2 separate regions of the Homo sapiens genome follow, and region 1 is linked to region 2. The links are contacts of gene promoters, found by promoter capture Hi-C in blood cells and fetal thymus (Javierre and others, 2016). All regions are on one chromosome and are shown on one strand. Each heading gives the region's core, a stretch centred on a gene start or on the middle of the fragment in contact. The rest is flanking DNA. Distances are from core to core; before and after follow the strand shown.

Region 1 (6,455 bases), core at 337-2,836, 530 kb after region 2:
ATTTTAAAAACTGTCTTCGGCAAACTATTAATTTCATATATCCTTTGGTTTAGCCAACTAGACATTTTCTGGCTTCCATAGGCTTCAATATTGCCCCAAAGACAAGTTTCTAGCCCCAATTCCACAATCCAGTGACATTATTTCCTTTATACTATAAATGGGATGACGGAATTTTTTTTAAGTAGAATATTTTTAGGGCAGAAATAAAGCCTAAGACCAGTATATATGGGCAAAATAACATTAACTTTTAACCCTTCTTGATCTCAGGAACTCAAAAGTTCATTTAAAAAATTGTTTTCTCTCTCTATGTATATATTTTAAAGAAAGCACCTTAGGGTACATCTGTCAACCTGTGAGTAGCTCTGAAATTACTCAAGAAACACTGCCACACCTATTATTAATGCCACACCTATTATTTAATAGCTTCATTCTGTAACCTGCTAATGCCTCTCTCTGGGAGTGCCCAGGGGCTCATTTTAAAATGAGGGCAGGGCCTGGGCTCCCCATCTGGCTCTAAGCCCTCCCACAAGGAGACCTACTAGTGGCCACTTCAAGACTAATTCATCCAGCATTAGCGCCTAACTGGAGACGCCGCTCTCTGATGAGGCACAGACCGTTGTCTCGTCTGCCAGGAGCACTTGACTCAAGTCAAGCCTGGCCAGGCCTACCCCAGCCTCAGAGTGGGTGGCCAAGTCCCCTTGTAATCTACAAGGGAGAAGGAATTGTGCTAAGCACAGGTTTCTGTTCAGAGCTGGGCTCTTGGAACTCCTGCAGTTTGGGTTATTTTAGTTTTTAACAGCTCAAGTTCTACTTTGCATTTCACAAATATGGAAATGTCTTAAGAGAAAACAGAAGCATCCTCCCTCTCTGGCCATTGCTCCCATTCCTAGAGGATTTGGGAGGGAAGAGCAGATACCAGGCACCATCTGGAGTCAGGAGCGCAGGAACCAAGGCCAGCTGAGAAGAACCCATTTGCAAAGCACTTTGCAGATCAATAAATTCGACTGATTTTAGAGCGGTCCCTAGGGAAAGGCGAGCAAATGGGCCAAGGAGAGATGCTGCCCATCCAACAAGCCCTGGCCAAGCAGAAAGGGGCGAGGCGGCGCGGGAGGCGAGTTACCTGGAGGACTCGGCGGTGAAGCTGCCGCCGTCCAGCAGCCGCATCTTGCAGAAGAGGACCCCATTGACGAAGGGCACTGAGGAGAGCTCCTCGAGCTCGAAGTCCACCTTAAACTTAAACTTCTTCTTCTTCATCATCGTGAGAGCCAGGCGCCTGCAAGCTGGGCGCACGGCCGGGCGCCGCCGCCTCAGCTTGGCCGAGCCCCGGATCAGCCCAGCCCCATGGCCGGGGCCGCGAGCTGTGCGCGGGGGCGCGGCCGGGGGGCGCCGCAGGCCGGCCGCGGCCGGGGCCGCTGCCGCCGCCTCTCGCGGCAGCCTGGGCCGGAACGCGGCGGCAGCTGCGGCGCGGACCCCGACCGCCCGCGGGGAGCGGTCGTGCTGCAGCTCGCCCGGGGAGGTGAGCGCCCTTTTGGTGCTCAGCTCGCCGCCGCCGCCGCCGCCGCCTCCGCCGCCGCTGCCGCCCGTCTGGGAGTCGGGAGAGGCGAGGCTCGAGGAACCGCCGCCTCAGCGCCTCGGGGGTCGGGGGCGCCCCCAGCGGCCGCGGCCTGCAGCGCACGGCGGGGCGGAAGCCGGAGGGAGGGCGGGGACTTTGTGGGCGGGCGCGGGCTTGGCCGCGGACTCTAACCCGCGACGGCAGTTAGCACGTCACGCCTTTCTGGGGTTAAAAAAAGACAAACCCGACAGAGAAAGCTTCCTTCTACCGCTTCCTCTCCGCCTTTCTTTTCAGTTTTTGCACCGCCTCCTTTCTCCCCCACCCCCTCCAGTGGTTTCTTTCCTTTGGGTTTGAGAGCCATGGGTTAATAGAGGCAATTAAAATCTCAGCGTTGTTTTGGTCAAATTGAAATCCTAAAACTAAAATTTCCGTTAGGTACTCTAAATTCACGAGCCTTCAAATATAAAAGGAAGATAAGGTAGGAAAAAGGAAAATGATGTGCTGAGGGACTATCAAGGGCCCAGGCACCGTACTGCTGCAGGCGCTTTCTCTGGGGTATAGCTTATCTAGTTCCTGTCACCCAGGACAAAAGATAAAAGAGCAAAGAAGCAGTTAAAATAATACCCTCCCTTTAAAAATTTGTCTGTCTATACTGAGAACTGAAATGCTTAAAATCAAATTCTGCAGGCAGTCTGGCATGGCTACGCTGTAATCCCAGCTACTCGGGAGGCTGAGGAGGGAGGTTAGCCTGAGCCGGGGAAGCGGAGCTTGCAATGATCGGAGATCGCGCCACTGCACTCTAGCCTGGGCAACAGAACAAGCCCCTGTCTTAAAAACAAAACAAAATCTTCAGAGCAGGCTTAAAAAAAAATCTCCCTAGGGGAATAACAATTACCTGCCTTCTGTAATCATGCATGTATTGTTACAATGAATGTTACAAAGTTGGTTACGTGATGTTCATGTTTTTAAACTGAGTTATTGTCATTTTCACTCAGATTCTGCCACAGTAATTCTGAAAGGGTTTAATTGAAAATATTTTCTTTCTCAGTTTACTCGTTTACTCATTCATTCATATAAAAAAATTGCTTAAAATGTCAATCATCGGCTAGACCCCATAACCAAAAGCCAATAACTGCCCTCAAGAATTTTACAATCTAGTGAGGAAGACATGTTTAGACAGGTCATTAAAAAAACACAACCTAGCACCAAGCTATGTAGAACTCAGAGAAGCAATTAATTGAAGTTAATCAGTTTTCTGAATTTCAAAGGATGAAAATGATTTGGGACAAAGTGGGGTAAGTTGTTCTAGGAGAAATAAATTAAAAAAAAAAAAAGATTCAGAGGCAGGTTCGGGGGTGGGGATTTGGTAATGGATAAAGCTTCTTACCCTGCAGGACAGGGGGCAAAGACAGTGAGATGCATTTGGGGACTTTGAGATTTGTCATTTAGAGCACTGGATGAATGTTAATTTCATTGACTGAACATTGAAAGCAAGAGGAGGGCAGGTTGGGAATGGAAGAGATAATGAGTCTTTATGGGATCTGCTTGCAGTACATCTAGGGAGAGAGAGGCAGCCTTAGCTCATAAAAATGCATTGGCAATTGAAAATATACATTTGGGAATTGAGGTAATCGCTGATGGCTGAAGCCCAAAAGGTGGATAAGGATGAGTTACTCTGAAGAATATTTAAAGGGTAGGCAAAGAGGAGATCGTGAAGGTGCCTAAGAACAAGCAGTCAAGAGAAAAAGGAGATGAAGAAAGAGATGGCCTGGAAGCCCAGACGGTTTTAATCATGTAACATTCGTAGTTACAAAGTTCTATTGTGTGCCAGGCACTATGCTGGGTACTAGAGATGCAAATGAATAAGACATAGGGGCTTATAAAGGAATGGAGAAAAACAGAGATATGCAAACAGATCAACTAAAGTGTGTGTGTGTGGTATGTGAGTATGTGTGTGTGAGAGAGAGAAGAGAGAGAGAAAGAAAGAGAGAGAGCAATCTGTGATCCATGTAGGACAGAGGACCATTTCAAGAGAGTGCTGCAGAGCAGTCCCAGAGGATTTGGACTGAAAAGAAGCTACTGAATTGAAGGTCTAGGAGGTCATTGGTAATCTTGGCAAGAGAAGTCATCATAAAAGATAGTGACAAAGTAAGATGAAAAGTGACAAAGTAAGTGAAAAGATGACAGTGAAAAGTAAGATAGTGACAAAGTAATGTGGGTAAATAAAAATTATATTTTTATTGATGTTTTTCTGATTTTTTTGTCAGCGAATGAAAAGAGAGAGAGAATGGTGACCAGAGGAGGACAGTTCAATCTTTTTCAATAACATTCAGGAACTATCCAATATTTATTGAGTGTCTATTAGGTGCCAAGCACCTTAATAGGTCCTATGGATTTGAAATGCCGTCCCTGTCTTAGATCTCACGGTCTACTGGAGGACACAGAGAAGTAAGCAGGCAGTTGCAGTACAATGTAACACTGAGTGCTGTCTGTGTATGATGGTGAGTGGAGACTGCTGTGGGAGACTATAAAAGCTAACAGGGATAAGTAGTAGGTTTATGGAATGCCTTCTAGGGTAAGTGAAGCCTGAATTCAGGCCTTTAAGCTGAGGCCTGAATAATGAGCATGGGTGGGGAGCAGTTTCCAGGAAGGAGGTAGTGTCTGTGCAGAGGCTCAAAGGAAGAGAGACCATGTTGCAGAGGGAACTGAAATTAGTTCTGTCTGGCTGCAACTTAGAGTTGGGTACAGTGACAGGGGTTAACAAAGAGCCATTGAAGTTTTAAAGAAGAAGCATGATATATTCAGATTTACATTTTGTAAAGCTCTTCTACTTTATAAAATGGAAGATAGGAGACAGTCTGTTACTGTTTTTTAGACTCATGGTTTGATTATTAAACCCCTGATAGGAGTCATAGTCAAGGCAGGAAACAGATATCATATTCAATGTGTTTAAATGGGGAAAATTTAATGAAAGGACTCTTCACAGAGTTGACAGGGTAAGGGACCCACAGTCTGGTGAGAAGTTGAAAGGAAGAAGGGATAAATATCCTGATTTCTCTCACCTCCTACTTTCTGATCTCTTGGTGGTGCTTCCCATGATCCAAAACCAACCAAGGCCAGAGGGTAGAGGGGCTCGGAACATGCAGTTCATACAGGACAGACTCCTGGGGCACAAAGTAGGGCACTGAAAGGTAGAGAATGGTTGGAGGTAAGGGGATGGAAAGCCACTAGCACACAAAGGATACAGTCAGGGTTCACCATAGGAAGCTGAAACCACTCTGGATGTTTCAAAAAAAAAAAAAAAAAGGGATTTCATTCAGGCACTTCACTGCTTCTGAAATCTGTGGAAGGGCTGAAGGGGTTGAGGTCAGCAGACTGTCGAATTCAAAGTCACATGCTTTGTGGTAAACATTACTAGTGTTCACTAGTATCCGGTCCTCCTTGATTTCTGAGCATATGGGAGTTTACAGTTCCCAATTCCCTTGCGGTTAGTGGGGCCTTGTGATGAGGTCTAGCCAATAAAATGTGAGAAGTAACACGTCACTTCCAGGATGAAACAGTGAAAAGCCTTTGAGCAGTTCTCTAGACTACCTCTTCCCTGCCACAATAGTTATAGAGGAGACCTTGGGTTAAGATGTAGCAGCCACAAGATTGAAGCAGCCCAGATTTCTTAAGTCAGCACATGGAGAGCAACTGCCCACACCTGCAGGAAACATTTTGTCTGTGAGAAAGCAACTTTTATTATATGAAGCCACTGAGATTTTGGGGGATGCTTGTCACTACAGCATAAGTCTAGTTTATTCTGACTAACATACACTGCAGCTGGGATGGGAAGCTGACACTAGAACACTGCTACTGCTGCTGCCACCACCACTGGCTCACACCTGTCAAGACTATGAGGAGTCTGAATGCCACAGGCATGTCATCACACCTTGCTTGCAAGTGACACAGCAGTAAGAAGAGAGCCTCCATTTCACTTGCACCTGTGTTTTCATAAGGAAATTTATTTGGCAGGCCTTATTTGCACCCAAAAATTGAGTGGCAAAGGAGTCTGAGAAATGTAATTTTCAGCTTTCCAACTTCTTCAGATAGGATGGTGGAATGAATGTTGAGGCTAAGTATCTACTCCAGTACTTATAATTCAAGTTTCTTAAAGGCAGGGATGGTTTGCTGATCATCTTTGTATCTTTTCTAAATAGCCCAGTACCTAGTGGGTATTCAATACATGTTTCTTGAAATGACCTGAATTTATAGACCTATCCTAAGTGTGTTAACTCTCAGGTAAAACAACAGAGTGAATAGACATGTGCTAAGACTGCTTACTGCCAGAGGTGTGACAATTCTTACAGGTTTATTCAATTCCCTTGAAAAGCATTTACTACCCCTTAAAAATGCGTACACTCCCCCTTTACCTCTCCCCTACAAAAAGGATATTTAAGTCTCAACCCTCTGGTCTTTCTTTGAGTCTCATATTCGCAGGACTACTCTGTCCATGTGCACTGATAAATTTGTATGCCTTTTCTCCTGTTAATCTGTCTATTGTCAGTCATTTCAGCAAAGCTTCAGAAGGCAGAGGGGAAGCTTTCCCATCAATCTTATACCTACAATAATTTGGTAAGAAAGTAAGATATCTATGAAACCCATAGTTCTATAAGAGGTTGAAAAATGGAATGTTAGTAGGTTATATTTATGGCTGCATTCAGTAAGATATTGGAAACATAAGATGAACTCATGCAATAATTAGCAGGTTTGCAAGCATAAATTAAAAGGAATATAGAGAGTCCAGAAATTTGGAGCCTCAAGGGATGGGAAAAACTAACTGCTCTATACCTCAAAGAATAGGAAATAAGATTGAAAAAGCTCTTGAGCAACAAGGGCCCATTAAGACTCAGCCGTGAAACAA
Region 2 (5,737 bases), core at 2,548-5,047:
CCAACAGGTTCTTCATCCCCGTCCCCTTGGTTGGCAGTTGATGACTTGGGTGCTTTGGAATTCATTTTATAAACAGGACGTAAAAGGCCATTACAACACAAGCAATTGCCACAGCAGCATGCAGCCTGGTTCCAATCACAGCGGCTAGCAGGCAAAAGAGAGAAGAAATCACACCCTGCCCTTCACCGAAGTCCTCACTTTCAAGGTGATATTTTGAAGTCTCTAGTCACAGACAGACATATCAACGCTCTCAAGGGCCTGGGATGTTTTTATTTTATTTTTGGAGGCAGTCTCACTCTGTCGGCCAGGCTGGAGTGCAGTGGCGCGATCTCGGCTCACTGCAACCTCTGCCACCCGGGTTCAAGCAATTCTCCTGCCTCAGCCTCTTGAGTAGCTGAGATTACAGGCGCCTGCCACCATGCCCAGCTAATTTTTGTATTTTTAGTAGAGATGGGGTTTCACCATCTTGGCCAGGCTGGTCTTGAACTCTTGACCTCAGGTGATCCACCCACCTTGGCCTCCTAAAGTGCTGGAATTACAGGCGTGAGCCACCGTGCCCGGCTCCCTGGCTAATTTTTGTATTTTTAGTAGAGACAGGGTTTCACCATGTTGGCCAGGCTGGTCTCGAACTCCTGACCTTGGGTGATCTGCCCTCCTCGGCCTCCCAAAGTGTTGGGATTACAGGCATGAGCCACCGCATCCGGCCTCTGAGATGTTTCTAAATGCTATCCTTATGCTTTAGGGTCTAGGTGAATATACTGTTTGTTTATATTTTGTCCTTTTTCAAAAAAAAATTTAGGTAGATAGGATTCCAAATGAATGTGCCTCAAATAAAAAGTACAAAAAAGCATCTGAGTTAATTAACTCAAACCTTAAAACAGACTCCAATGTACCATTTACAGAAAATCAAGAAAAATTTTCCGTAGAAAAATTTTTTTCCCACTGAAGGGAGGAATTCCACCCCAGCCTAAAATGATTTGATGTGTATACTTTTACTCCATGGAGAATACAAAAATCATCTGGATGCTAAAATAGACAATTATGTTTTTAAATAATTTTTTTTTTTTTTGAGACAGGGTCTCACCCTGTCACCTGGGCTGGAGTGCAGTGGCTCCACCATGGCTCACTGCAGCCTCAACCTCCTAGGCTCAAGCAATCCTCCCACCTCAGTCTCCTGAGTAACTGGGACTACAGGCACGTGCCACCATACCTGGCTAATTTTTGTATATTTTGTAGAAATGGGGTCTCACTGTGTTGCCCGGGCTGATCTACAACTCCTGGACACAAGCAATCCTCCTGCCTTGGCCCCCCAAAGTGCTGAGATTATAGGCATGAGCCATCACACCCAGCAAATTTTAACTTTTACCTCTTCCCTCAACTTTGGAGAATGATTAATTTTCCAGACTCTCAGACCCAATCGGAGGGATTTTTTTCTAAAAATGAAACCAAATATAATCCCAGCTCACTGTACTCCCTACTTTGTAGCTCCACACTGTCCAGAGATGGCAGTCTCTTCTCCCTGTCCAGACATGGCCTCACCTTTGTAAAACACACCCCAAACACCCTTCTTCTCTGATAGCAGCCAGGTTTTGAGACGAGGTACTTTCTTGAAGTAGGCACAGGTGCAAACAAAGAGCAAACCAAACACCAGAATCCCATCCAAGGAGTACACTGTTAAATAAAGAAGAAAAGAAAACCTTAGGTACTGATCTAGCGTCGGACCTGTGATCCCGCCTGAGAACTCTAAGGAAGATAGTGTGTGACATAATAACAAAATAATAACCTCAACAGGCAGTACTGACACTTGACAAGGGGGAGCCAGGATCCTGGGACTAACACGATTATTTTACTGTTCCCAAAAATTGCTTGTAGGAGGAAGGGGGATCAATTGAGCCCAGGAGTTCGAGGCTGCAATGAACTACGATCATGCCACTGCACTGTAGCCTGAGCAACAGAGTGAGACCCCAACTCAAAAAAAAATTTTTTTTTTTACATCCCCTTTACTAAAATGTCACTGGTCCTTCCCCTCACCTTTCAAGAAGTAGAAATCCTGGGCAGAAATTAGCATCCCAGGAATGACTAGTGTTGGCAATAGATTGAGACATATGAATCCTTAGAGACTCAGCACAGAGAATTTAACATGTTCTTGTTATAAATCACTCATATGATAAAGGAGAGCTAGATATGTAGCCAAAACTGTCAGATGTGCAACTGTTGGTGAAGAATATGTTAAGGCAAAAAATTAAGCTTAATGAAAGTTGCAAGAGTAAGAATCCACATGACTACAATTTTCCTATCATTATCTTACACTTTATGGATGATACTCTTAACAAACCGAATTTCTGCCAGAATAATAACAGATTTTTCTAAAACAAAGAAAAAGTATCTAAGGCTTCAACATAGAAAGCTTTAACTTCTTAGCTCTGTTTCTTAAATACATAAACCAAGCTTATTTCTTGTACAGGGAAGCACAATGAATCACCTAATTGCAAAAAACAAGAAGATATTGGACCACAAAATGGGGGAAGAATGACTAAAATTTATTCAGCAACTACCGTGTCAAACTGCTGTCTTACTTCCTGGTTCAGATTCTGTCTTCCTCTGGGTAAATTCCCTTTTCTTACTGTGCCTAGTATCCTGAGACCTCTGACTTCCCAGGAAGCTCCAAATGAATATTATATATAACCAGTGTCTGCCAGTTCTAGATCACACTACCTCTCTTCCTCCAGTAAAACTGTCTCACAGCTAAGCTGTCACTAAGAAAGGGTCCAGCAAATTAATACATACACTAAGGTTTTCTGAGGAACTATACCTTCACGTGCTACCCCTTTTCTCTCATAAGTTTCTGCAGACAATGCCAAAATTCACAAGGAGGTTAAATTCGAGTCTTCAGTGCCAGGTCTATGGACAAAGTACTTTTGAGAAATGCTTTCCGGAGCCCCTCAAATCATCGTAATGCCTAAAAGGCTTTCTCTTCTCCTTTCCTGTAAGGTTGACACTAAAAATCATGAAGGCCCTCCTTCCTGTCCTCCTCTGGAATTCAGAATTCATAAAGTGTTTGAAGAGGCCTGGAAAATTAGGTCAGATAAACTGCCTCATCATCTAGAAGAGGCAGTGTCTAAATCCACCCTTTGCAACACTAGTCAGGGTCTCCACGTGGGATCACCCCGCCAGGACTTTAAAATCAGAAATCTTTCCGGTATTTTTCCGTAAGAAGAAGCTTTTGTGGGGTCTACATTCACCAGCAACCCCAAAAGTGTGGGACTTGATATTCTATGTCATTTATTGGCCCTCTCAACAAAACTACGGTCCGAAAGCATGAGAACGCAGGGAGCTGGGAGGAGGAGCCTCTCTCTTCCCCGGGTTTAAATAGCAGTAGTACCTCTGGGACTGACCTCTCCAAGGGCCAGAAAGAACTAAGAAAAAGAAAAGGGAAAGCAAAGCATAGGGATAGATAACTCGAGGTGTGAGCATAAGAGGCACTGGGGGTCCTAGATGAATATGGGAAGGGGGAACCCGTAGAGGAGTATAGGGGTACAGAAGTTAGGGGCGTCGAGAGGCCAAGGGGGGCCGGGCTGGGAGGGGGCGGGGAGAACGGCCACGTCAGTCCCGGCCCCGCCCGCCACGTTTTCCCTTCGTCCTTCACTCCCACCCTCCGCTCAGGGCATCAGTTCTCACCGTTCGTCATGGCGGCTGGCCCTGGACCTGGGTAGGGGGTCCGGGTTCAGTGGTAATAGCGGCGGAGATGGGGGAGCGCCCGCTTGACACTTCCCGATCCGGGCCGAGGTGACTGGAAGAAGCCGTAGTACGCAGGAGCAAGGGCCGAGAGGCGAGCGCCGAACGCTATCAGGAGTGGCTAGCCGATTGTCGAGCTCGGGAAACTGCGTGTTTACGTAGGGTAAGAAGAACGCTATCTCGAAGGCTTCGTACTTGGCCGTGGTAACTAAGTCTTTTCTGCGTGCCCCTGCGGGCGTAGGGCTGGGGCTGGCCCGCGTCAGTGTGTTTGAAAAGGTAAAGGCTTGTAGTTTTGTAGTTTATTTTGCGCCGTGGCGGCTGCTGTGTGTAAGCAGCAGCCTACCTATGAGGTTTTCATCGTCCTGGGCTTCCACTTGAGAGAACTCCAGCACCGCGGGTGAAGAAGCCGCACCTGCGGCCTCCGTGACTGCCCTTGAGCTGCTCTTCCTTACTCCGGATGGAAATCTAGTCAGACTGCGTCTGAACGTTGCAAATGAAATGAGGAACCTTGTAACAAAAACAAGTCGCGGCCGGGCGCGGTGGTTCACGCCTGTAATCCCAGCACTTTGGGAGGCCGAGCCAGGCGGATCACCTGAGGTCGGAGTTCGAGACCAGCCTGACCAACAAGGAGAAACCCCGTCTCTACTAAACATACAAAATTAGCCGGGCGCGGTGGCTCATGCCTGTAATCTAAGCACTTTAGGAGGCCGAGGCAGGCGGATCACCTGAGATCGTAGTTCGAGACCAGCCTGACCAACATGGAGAAACCCCGTCTCTACTACAAATACAAAATTAGCCGGGCATGGTGGCTCATGCCTGTAATGTAATCCCAGCTACTCGGGAGGCCGAGGCAGGAGAATCGCTTGAACCTGGGAGGCGGAGGTTGCGGTGAGCCGAGATCGCGCCATTGCACTCCAGCCTGGGCAACAAGAGCGGAAACTCCGTCTCAAAAACAACAACAACAACAACAACAACAACAAAAACCAAGTCGCATCTTTCAGATCCTAAAGCACCACGTCGTCGGAAAACATTCAAAGGGTTGCCCGTTTGCTTGTGTGAATTTTTCTTTTCCTTAAACTATCAGGAGAATCTCGATTCTCCTGCATTTAATTAATGCTGGGATCACTTCAGCCACTTTAACCAGAAATCGGCGATATCTAGACACCGCTTCTCTGAGGACACTTTGACAACGTGACAAAAGACATTGCCAGTCTAATGATGGGGGTGGGGTGGAGGAGACAAAAGTACAGATTCAGATTTGCATACTGAAATCCTTAATTGCACACAACTCGGCCCGCTTTATTAGAGTTCGGGCGGAAGTGCGACACCGAGTCCTCCAAGGCTAACTGGAGGGTTAAATTATACGGTTACTAATCCGCCGTGCTTGTCAAGGGCCTAAAGGGACTCTGCCCCTTTCTGCTGCAGTGCCATCTGCTGGCTGCAGCCTGCTTGGTTACCCAGAGGGAAAACTGCCAAAGCATCCTCTGGAAGCTGGCCTGGAAAGACAAGCCAAAGTCTAGTGCAGGACAGATGCCTTGAGAAAATATACATACATGCAGAAAGAAAAAAAAAAAAAGACGGCGTATATACGGGACAAAACCTAGGACAAGGCCAGGCAGCCACTCAGATTATATATATGTTTGCACATTCACACACAGACAAATTCCCCTGCCCAAAAGAACTGTTCAGGACCACTCAAAAACAAAACAGAACAAAAGCTCTATTGTTTAGGCCTTCGAATCCTTCATCAACCATTGTCTAAAACAGCAGCAGCTGGCCGGGCGCGGCTCACGCCTGTAATCCCAGCACTTTGGGAGGCCGAGGCAGGCGGATTACCTGAGGTCAGGAGTTCAAGACCACCCTGACCACATGGTGAAACCCCGTCTCTACTTAAAAAAAAAAAAAGAAAAAAGAAAAAAAGAAATACAGAAATTAGCCTGGCATGGTGGCGTGCGCCTGTAATCCCAGCTACTCGGAAGGCAGAGGCAGGAGAATAGCTTGA

What was found. Contacts are between HindIII fragments. The CHiCAGO score rates a contact against its expected background, and 5 or more counts as called.
Region 1: the fragment with the promoter of EEIG2 here is called in contact with the fragment with the promoter of TMEM167B in region 2 in 2 of 17 cell types (non-activated CD4 T cells and total CD4 T cells); the score reaches 8.2 in non-activated CD4 T cells.

The regions. Positions count from the first base shown.
Region 1 is chr1:108,555,231-108,561,685 of GRCh38, reverse strand. EEIG2 (EEIG family member 2) reads right to left here and starts at 1,586. Exons shown (of 11, transcript NM_001010883.3): 1 at 1,121-1,586. The coding sequence starts at 1,257. RefSeq lists enhancers at 383-432, 896-995 and a silencer at 1,386-1,925. The HindIII fragment of the contact is 6,399 bases long and covers 1-1,811 here.
Region 2 is chr1:109,088,824-109,094,560 of GRCh38, reverse strand. It overlaps TMEM167B (transmembrane protein 167B), which reads right to left and starts at 3,797. Exons shown (of 3, transcript NM_020141.4): 1 at 3,679-3,797; 2 at 1,540-1,671; 3 at 1-144. The coding sequence starts at 3,688. The coding sequence ends at 62. It also overlaps the pseudogene NDUFB3P1. RefSeq lists an enhancer at 3,964-4,163. The HindIII fragment of the contact is 3,338 bases long and covers 3,223-5,737 here.